Regions from separate parts of the Homo sapiens genome. Here all the other regions are linked to region 1. Evidence: promoter capture Hi-C in human tissues and cell types (Jung and others, 2019). All regions are on one chromosome and are shown on one strand. Each heading gives the region's core, a stretch centred on a gene start or on the middle of the fragment in contact. The rest is flanking DNA. Distances are from core to core; before and after follow the strand shown. Region 1 holds the start of DNAH17 (dynein axonemal heavy chain 17). Region 2 overlaps CYTH1 (cytohesin 1). Region 3 overlaps CYTH1 (cytohesin 1).

What was found. The method cuts DNA at HindIII sites, captures the fragments that hold promoters and counts their contacts. A contact is called where the count stands out against the background at its distance.
Region 2: a contact is called between a fragment that was not itself captured here and the fragment with the promoter of DNAH17 in region 1, in 1 of the 25 tissues and cell types used here (neural progenitor cells).
Region 3: a fragment that was not itself captured here is called in contact with the fragment with the promoter of DNAH17 in region 1 in 3 of the 25 tissues and cell types used here (bladder, pancreas and thymus).

The regions. Positions count from the first base shown.
Region 1 is chr17:78,575,997-78,579,259 of GRCh38, forward strand. It overlaps DNAH17 (dynein axonemal heavy chain 17), which reads right to left and starts at 1,400. Exons shown (of 81, transcript NM_173628.4): 1 at 1,299-1,400. The HindIII fragment of the contact is 13,821 bases long and covers 1-3,263 here.
Region 2 is chr17:78,709,674-78,713,038 of GRCh38, forward strand. CYTH1 (cytohesin 1) reads right to left here. Exons shown (of 14, transcript NM_004762.6): 2 at 1-59. Among named protein-coding and RNA genes, the nearest start is that of CYTH1, 71 kb to the right of the region's middle. The HindIII fragment of the contact is 4,206 bases long and covers 1-3,365 here.
Region 3 is chr17:78,726,971-78,730,286 of GRCh38, forward strand. The region is part of intron 1 of CYTH1 (cytohesin 1); the gene reads right to left. Among named protein-coding and RNA genes, the nearest start is that of CYTH1, 54 kb to the right of the region's middle. The HindIII fragment of the contact is 3,980 bases long and covers 1-3,316 here.

The DNA.
Region 1 (3,263 bases), core at 150-2,649:
GTGTTTTCATCACAATCTGGGAGGTATGCAGCTCCTGAATTTCAAGGGGAACCCTGGGGTATTCAGCTGCTCTGGGGGTCCGTGGGCTGGGGCTGGCCTGCTCCAGACCTGGCAGCTGCTGAAAAGCATCAGGGTGGACAGATGACGTTGGAAGCACTCACAAATTCTGCCTTTTGGTTTGACCCAAGCTATTGCTTTTAAGTTTGTAACAGCCTACAGTTCCCCAAAAGACACGTAATACCACGGAACAGGTTTATTTCACCCTGGCCACTATATATCGGCAAAACAACTATATGATGGGAAGCAGTAGTGGATAGCATTTGGATGCTATTCAAATGGTCTGAGATTTATTCAAGGCTCCAAACATCTCTGAGAGAGGACTTGGGGAATATTTGGCCAGCAAATGGCAGAAACATGGCGGTCCACGAGCAAAGCCACCCGATTCAGGCACATCTGTGAAAGAAAAAGGGGACACCACCAGGCAAGTAGGAGGAGCACCGCGTGGCATTTATGGAGATGACTCGTTCACCAGGTTCCCACAGGGCTTTCAGCATGCTGCTGAATTAATCTCCACCCAGGATCTCCGAGACCCGGGGACGCGTCACGTCGTCATTTCCTAGGGGGATCAGGAACTCAGGGGAGCCCGAGTCCTGGAAGGTTCCTGATTGGAAGTCTCGCCAAGCTGGTCAGGCGACTGGACTGGAGGGAAACATCCTCTGGTTTACTGATTTTGTGGATTTGGGCTTTCACAAAGTCATCTTTTCTTCCAAGAACGGCATGGGGTGGGCTGCCTCCCAAGCCATAACATGTGTGGGCTGAGGGGCCCCTACACCCCGCAAGTTTCTTGCACGATCGGGAGGTCTCATCTCAGGCTCCCACCCAGCCGTTTCCTGGGCTGAAGGCCAGGAGGTCCCAGTTAACAATAGGGTTGTCCCAGGCCATGCTTCCGGAGGGGCAGAGACGGCTTCTCTGGGAGGTGGCCCATGCCCCAGGCCTTCAGGACTCCACAGGAGGAAGCTGGGGCTAGGGGCTTCCAGGAGAAGCCAGGGGGCTGAGGCAAGGCCTTCCCAGGAGCAGGGAAGAGTCTGGAGCCCTGGAAGGGGTCAGGCTGGTACGTGGCAGCCAGCCTCGGGGTCCCAGAGCCATGAACAGCTCCCGGTGGCGAGCAGAGCCACTTCTGGGGTAAGTGGAGGGTCTGCTGTCTGCCAGGGCCTAGGTCCCACCTCCATCCTCTGAAGGCCTCCCTGCTCCCTCCACCTTGGCCTCCGACTCCCCCAGCATGGTTGAAGGCCGCTCACCAGCTGAAGGCAAACAGCTTCTCCCGCAAACTGATGAGCAACTCTTTCCCAAACCAGGAAAGAAAATGGCTCCCTTCCCTCGAGGGGCTCCAACTGCCACATAACTTCTGGGAGTCTCCTCACGGTACCTGGGGCTTCTAGAACCTTCCCCTTGGGACCCAAGTAACCAATGATAGCGCAGCAAATGAGGAACCAACCGTCACCCCACAGTGGAAAGGCTCTTAGATGATCATTTTGAGGGGAGGTTGGAGGGGGGACAGGGTCGCGCTCTGTTACCCAGGCTGGAGTGCAGTGGTACAATCATAACTCACTGCAGCCTCAAACTCCTGGGCTTACGTGATCCCCCCCCCTCAGCCTCCTGAGAAGTTAGGACAACAGACGCACATCACCACACCTGGCTAATTTTTGTACTTTTTGTAGAGATGAGGTCTCACTCTGTTGCCCAGGCTGGTCTCAAACTCCTGGCCTCAAGCAATCCTCCCAAAGTGGAAAGGAAGACATTATCTCTGTTTACAATAAGGTGATCTTGTATGTAGAAAATCCCAAGAAATCCATAAAATTGTAGAGCTAATAGAGGAATTCAGCAAGTTTGCAGTATACAAGATATTTGAAAATTAATTATATTTCTCTGTAATTATATTATGAACAATCTGATGATGAAATTTAGAAAACAATTGTCCCCATAATGAACAATCTGATCATGAAATTTAGAAAACAACTCCCATTTACAACAGCATCAAAATAATTTCGTTTACAATAGCGTCAAAAACAACAAAATACTTAGGAATAAACTTTAAAAAGAAGTGTTAAGACTTGTACACTGAAAACTGCAAAACATCATGGAAATAAAGACAACCTAAATCAATGGAAGGACATGCTGTGTTCATGGGTTAGAAGATTGTTAAGACGGGCCAGGCGTGATGGCTCACGCCTGTAATCCCAGCACTTTGGGAGGCCAAGGCGGGTGGATCACGAGGTCAGGAGATCGAGACCATCCTGGCTAACACGGTGAAACCCCATCTCTACTAAAAATACAAAAAAATTAGCCGGGCGTGGTGGTGGGTGCCTGTAGTTCCAGCTACTCAGGAGGCTGAGGCAGGAGAATGGCATGTACCTGGGAGGCGGAGCTTGCAGTGAGCCGAGATCCCGCCATTGCCCTCCAGCCTGGGAGACAGAGTGAGACTCCGTCTCAAAAAAAAAAAAAAAAGAAGATTGTTAAGATGACGACAGTTCTCCTCAAGTTGATCTGCAGATTCAACACAATCCTTATCAAACTCTCAGCTGCCTTTTTTGTAGAAATGACCCTAGATTTTATAGGGAAGTATGAGGGAACAAAAACCATCCAAACAACTTTGAAAAAGAACAAAGTCTGAAGACACACACTTCCTGATTTCAAAACTCACTACAAAGCTACAGTTATCAAGACAGTGCTACCAGCATAACAATAGACAGAGATCACTAGAATAGAATTGAGGTTCCAGAAATAAATGCATCCATTTATGGACGATTGAGTTAGCAAAGGTGCCAAGACAACTCAATGGGAAAAGAATCACCTTTTCAACAAATGGTATTGGAATAACTGAATACCCACATGCGGAAAAACGAAGCTGGGCCCTTACCTCACGCCATCTACACGAATTAACTCAGCATAGATTAACAGAATGCAAGAGCCAAATGTAAGAGCTAAAACTATAAAACTCTTAGAAGAGCACACAGGAGTTGATCTGACCTCAGATGAGGCAATGATGTCTTACATATGATGCCAAAAGCATAAGTGAGCAAAGGAAAAAAGATAAGTTTAACTTCATCAAAACCAAAAACTTTTATGCTTCAAAAGGCACCCTAAAAAAGGGAAAAGATGACCCATAGAATGGGAGAAAATATTTGCAAATCATATATCTGACAAGGGACTTGTCGTAATACAATAAAACAACCTAATTTTAAGGAGTAAAGGATATAGATATT
Region 2 (3,365 bases), core at 596-3,095, 130 kb after region 1:
TTTTCTCCGTCGGATGTTCTCCAGTTCTTGACGCTCCTCTGCTGTCAGGTCACTGGGAACTACAAAAATGGAGGGCAATGTTACAAGAAAGCTTTTATCTCGCCAAAAATCAAGGAAGATCCAGAGGCCACAAAAGGAGAAAGATATCAAGAAAGAAACTAGAAGTCAGTTTCAGAAATGACTGAGTGATAGAAATAGTTATGGCTCCAATTCTTATCAGATTTCTAAGAAAGGAAGGCCCTTAAATCACACAGAAAAGCTCTGAGAAACTCTTGGAAGGAAAAACGAGAGAGAAGAGATTACTGAAGGTTAAATTAGGTTGGCTATGAATGAAAAAGGATGAATATTAGCTGAGCGCCTGGCCATTTTCATCCCTTCCAGCTGGGAGACTTCAGGCTGACATTTAATTAATCTCTCTAGGCCTCAGCTCCCTCATGGTCAAAAACAGAGTCTCCGAGATGGAAAGATGTCCATGACCCCCTGAGGTGGGGAGGGGAGGCAAGAGGCAAAGCAACGTGTACGAACAATTTTGTGCCATCTCTGGGAGGGGTTTGGAGAAAGAGACTATGTATGCACTGAGAAATAAAAAAAGTCTAGAATATACACCTAAAATCAGTGCTTAACTCTGGGAACTGGGACTATGGGACTTTCTCTTTCTGCTTCATACCTTTCTTCATTGTTTCGATGTTTTACAATGTGCTCTTATCATCAGAAGAAAGTTACTTAATTCCCAGATCACAGCTCTCACCACAAAATACTTCTGCCATCCTCCAATGGCTCAATCTCCCCCACCTATACCAACAGGAGATTTGGACAGACACCCTCTAAAATGACCCTTCAAGCATGCTATGGGAAGCCATGTGGGCAAATGAGAAGAACAAGCATTAGAATCAAACAAACCAGGTTCAAATCCTAGCTCCAATCTACCAAATATCAAATTAGGTCACTTCAGACAAGTTATGTAACCCACTTGGGTCACATTTCATCATCAATGAAGTGGTCCCACCATCACCCACTTGATAAGGCTGCTGTGAAGATGATGTAGAGTAATTAAAGTGCCTCAAACCCTGCCTGGTGCTGAGCAGAAGCTCAGAAGTGTTGGCTCTTGTTCCCTCCATGGCACAGCAAAGGGCACCCACACTCTCAAGGGTAGGGGTGGTTTGAGGGTCCTTCTATCCTTCAGTGGGTGCCTATGTGAGCCTGAGCTGCACTGTACAATATGGCGGCCAGGAGCCCCACGTGACATTAACCACTTGAAATGTCACCACCCAGTTTGAGATGTGCTGTAGGTAAAAAATATACACCGAGGCCGGGCACAGTGGCTCATGCCTGTAATCCCAGCACTTTGAGAGGCCGGGGCGGGCAGATCACGAGGTCAGGAGACCGAGACCATCCTGGCTAACATGGTGAAACCCCGTCACTACTAAAAATACAAAAAATTAGCTGGGCGTGGTGGCAGGTGCCTGTAGTCCCAGCTACTCGGGAGGCTGAGGCAGGAGAATGGCGTAAACCCGGGAGGTGGAGGTTGCAGTGAGCCGAGATCCCGCCATTGCCCTCCAGCCTGGGAGACAGTACAAGACTCCATCTCAAATAAATAAATAAATAAATAAATAAATAAATAAATAAATAATATATATATATACACACACACACACACACACACACCAGACTTTCTATAAAAACAAAGGAAAATGACTTTTTAATAATATTTTATATTGATTGCACATTGATATAACTTAATGAAATGTATTATTTTAATTGATCTCAAAGGAACTAGTATGAAATAAAAGTGCATCTATGGCTCATATTATATTTCTAGACAGCATAGAGTTGGAATTAACATCTCTGCTTGAGAGCACAGTTAGGATACACATACTTTCCTTCTGCCCATGGCATTAAAACTTAATCTACTACATTCACAGAGCAGTTACTTTCCCCAAATATTTCATAAAAATCACAAGAGGGTAGAAACAATAGACTACAGTGAAGTGTACAGTGGGTTAATTAGCTACATTAGAAAAGCCGACTTTTCCTTTTTTTTTTTTTTTAACCTAGGTTTTCCCCAACCTTCTCTAAAAAAGTGTTTTTTAAACATCTCAAAATCCAAAATAAGAAAAGCATTTTAGTCCAGGCCTTGTAGCTCACGCCTGTAATCCCAGCACTTTGGGAGGCCAAACCAGGCAGACTGCTTGAGCCCATTGGGACCAGCATGGACAACATGGTGAAACCCTGTCTCTACTAAAAAAAATACAAAAATTAGCTGGGCATGGTGGCACATGCCTGTAGTTCCAGCTACTCGGGGGGCTGACGTAGAAGGATTGCTTGAGCCTGGGGTGCAGAGGTTGCAGTGAGCCAAGATCGCACCACTGCACTCCAGCCTGGGCAACAGAGCCAGACAAGAAAGAAAGAAGGAAAGAAGGAAAGAAGGAAGGAAGGAAGGGAGGAAGGAAGGGAGGGAGGAAGGAAGGGAAGGAGGAAGGAAGGGAGGGAGGGAGGGAGGGAGGGAGGTAGGAGAGAGAGAAAGAGAGAGAGAAAGAGAAAGAAAAAGAGAAAGAAACAGAAAAAGAAAAGAAATGCATTTTACATCATGACCCAATCTCCACCATACATAAAAGTATCAAAAATAATATCTCACCATGTCTGTTATTTCACTGTGAGCTTTCTTAACAGTGGTTTAGTCCAGTAAACTGATTTTATGGCTGCATGCGGTGGCTCACACCTGTAATCTCAGCACTTTGGGAGGCCGAGGTGAGTAGATCACCTGAAGTCAGGAGTTCAAGACCAGCCTGGCCAACATGGTGAAACCCCGTCTCTACTAAAAATACAAAAAAAATTAGCCAGGCATGGTGGCAGGTGCCTGTAATCCCAGCTACTCAGGAGGCTGAGGCAGAAGAATCGCTTGAAGTTGGGAGGTGAAGGTTGCAGTGGGCTGAGATCGTGCCACTGCACTCCAGCCTAGGCAACAAGAGCACAACTCTGTCTCAAAAATAATAATAATAATAATATAAAAAATAAAAAATAATTATTTCATAATCAATTAGGTAATCGTATAATTACCTAATATACTGAGTCCTGTGGTTTGAAAAACACTCTTCCTTTAGAGGCTGGAAGAGACAGCCACTCTAAAGATCCCAACAGACCAACTAAATCCAACCCAGGTCACCTTCACAAGAGTGGGCCTTAAACTGCGTCCCTGAGAACTCAAGGGTGATCACTCAGGTGTGTGTATTGGAGGACGGAGCCTTAAATAAGTTCACCTACACACCTGCTCTCCAGTCCCATTCCTGTGTCAAGACCCAGGACTCCAGCTCAGCAATCCATCAGCATTATGTGGATTCTAACCCTGCACCCCCGCCAAACCCACC
Region 3 (3,316 bases), core at 141-2,640, 150 kb after region 1:
CATCCTCTTTCCAGTTCTCTCTCTCAGGCTCAAGGACAGGTGCAACCAGAAAGTGACCCTCTGACAAGCGTGCAAGGGCAATGTGCATCAATCATTTTATTTCTAAAGCGGAAAATGAGGCACAAGGAATACATTCAAATCTCGCAGTTTCATCAGCATCCCAAACCCACGAATTCACAATGCTGCTCAAAGGTCCTCTCTGCCCATGAGGCGTCCCCAAACCCCAAATCACCTGGGCCACAGGCTCCAAGCACCACAGACATGATAAGCATAAAGCTTTTAGGCGAGTCAGCATTCTCAATCTCCCCTCCTTCTGTGTCCCATGAAAACAGAGGCCTGGGGTTTTTTTTACTTTTTTCTTTAAATTCTATTCCACTCCTTACACTTAAAAATGCCTCATTATTCTTTAGTAAATGCTAGGAGCATAAAATCTTCTTCAAAGAAGCAAAAACTGGCATCTGTTCCTGCTCTGAGAAGTCCTTGAAGATCTCTTGAAAGGAAGGTCATTTCTACCTGCACCTCAAAATAGAAACAAACTGGCTCCCTGTTCCAGACATCACCCTTACCAGAGTTGCCCCGAGTCCGGGTTTGCAAAAGTTTGGGAGAGGTGTAAGAAGGAGCTGACTAGGGCACCAGCCTTCCAAGTCGCGGGAAGGTCCAGGATACTGGCCCCCTGCCTCCACCTACCAGCAGGGCAAGGCTGGAGCAGGCACGGCCGACCCAAGCCTCCTGGCGAGTGCATCCTTCTGGTGCCAACTCAGTGTGTTAGGAGGGCAGGCTTCTTCTTCTCTGTCTTGGCTGCTCTCATGAGGCTGCTCTTGGACCGTCCCCTATCTCCTGCCCATGCAGGGGGCAGAACTGTAGGAGGAAGAAAGACGAGACCTATGGCAGGGGCAGCCAAGGAGAGCAGTGAGGAGGAGCAGAAGGCAGGCCAAGCTCTGCACCTTTGAGATCCAGGGCAGCACACCCACTCCAGAACTAGCTGAAGAGGTGCTGACCCATGAGAGGGCAGTGAGTCCCTGATATCATGCAGGTGTCCTATGGCCTCCCTCCACGACAAATGGATGCCCACCTCTAGGTGGCACGATATAGTCAGTTTCTCTGGACAAACTCTATTCTACCCCAAACACTGGTAAATCCTCCCCAAGCCAGGCTGGTTCCTGCAGCAGGGCCAGCCTCTCATCTAGACAGGAAAAAGAAACATGGAAAACAAAGGGGACCTGAGCAAAGGTAGAAAGACCCCAGTAATCAAAGTTCTCGTACATACACCACGATGTTTAAAAACATTATTTACGCCGGGTGCAGTGGCTCACTCCTGTAATTCCAGCACTTTTGGGGGCCGAGGTGGGTGGATCACTTGAGGTCAGGAGTTTGAGACCAGCCTGACCAACATGGTGAAACCCCATCTCTACTAAAAATACAAAATTAGCCAGGTGTGGTGGCACATGCCTGTAATCCCTGCTACTTGGGAGGCTGGTATTACAAGAGAATCACTTGAACCAGGGAGGCAGAGGTTGCAGTGAGCCAAGACCACGCCATTGCACTCCAGCCTGGGTAATGAGAGCGAAACTCCATCTCAAAAAAAAAAAAATTATTTACATTACCAACATGATGTTTACAGAAATATAATAAAAAGGATATTAAACTTCACATGGGAAAAAATATATATGACAATAGTCAGAAAAATATGAAAGGGAGAAAGGGTAACGTGAGGGTGTAGCTACCTGAGATTAAAGCACGTGAGGCTTTGGTAATTGAAACTGCAACGGAAGAAAAAGACCAGAAAACAAACTCAAGAAATACTGAAACACACACGTAGCACTTTGAATCGGTAAAGAAAAATAGGATTATTCAGTCAAGGGTGCTGAGCAAATAAATAGCCAGCTAGCCATTTGGGATAAAACTAAGCTGAAATGAATTCTAGCTTAATCAAAGATGTTAATGTAAAATAAAACCTGAATAATTCTAGAATAGAGCATGAATTAGTATAGTCATAATATTGGTGAGTCTGCTCATTTGCGACATGAAAATGAAAAGCTTCTGAGTGAAAAATAATATCCCATAAGCTAAAAGGTAAACAACTAGGACAATAAATTCACAAAACATATGACAAAGGGTTAATATCTTTTTTTAAATTAATTAACTTATTATTTTTAGAGAGAGGGTCTCACTCTGTACCCAGGCTGGAGTGCAGTGGTGTGATCATAGCTCACTGCAGCCTCAAACTCCTGGCCTCAAGCGATACTCCCACCTCAGCCTCCAGAATAGCTGGGACTATAAGTATGTGCCACACCTGGCTAGGGTTAATTTATTTAAGTCACAAAGAAAGCAGCATAAAAATTAGTAAAGCAAAGATGAATACAATGAGCAAAGGATATAAAAGACAGATTACAAAAAGAGAAATACAAATGGTCACACAGAAGAAGATGCTCACAGTCACTATGTGTTTAATGCAAATTAAAACATGAATAACATACCATTTTCCATTAGTCTGGCAGGAATCAGAATGCCAGATGAGACGAAATACTGTCAGGGGAGTGGGCTACACAGGCAGTCTCCCGTGCTGCTGGGAGAGTGTAAACTGGTACAACCTTTTGGCACTAGCAAAACATAAAGAGCACACACCTTTTGATTTGATTTGAATCAAACTTATGAATTTGATTCTTAAATTCCACTTAAGAGTGGATATGCTCCCCAAATTCCAAAAATTTTAAACTACCTAAAAACTACTTGGTAATTTAAAAGAATGAGGTGATTTGTAAATGCTAACATGAAAAGATCTCTAAGACACATCTGGTGAAACAGGATGGCACAGAATACCTTCTCACAAGTAACACCTACGCTTGCTAAACACACAGGGAGCTTCTGAGAAGGACACACTTGAAACTGCTAGCAGGAATCACCTTTCAAAGCAAGGACTGTGGAAAGAGAGTGGGGGAGGCCTGGACTCTTCCTCTTCTGCCTATCTGTATATCTGGATCCACAACTAACACAAAATTTGATGTTGAAGTTTTTATTCAAAGAAAATACAGAAATGCCCCCAGCCACTTATATTTGCTCAGACTGGCCCAATATTTCTATTATAGAAGAAACATCCTTGGATTCTGTTTTAATGCCCATGAAGTGCCTGTTGTAACTACACCCATTCTGCTGTGATTTCGTATGTGGTCTCTCGTCTGAATTCTGTGACTCAGAATCCCAATTCTTCACAGAAAACACAAAGGGAAAGAGACTTTAGACACCAGAAGGAAAGGCGTCAATAGTCACTGACTAGGCCGGGCGCGGTGTCTCACGCCTTTAATCCCAGCACTTTGGG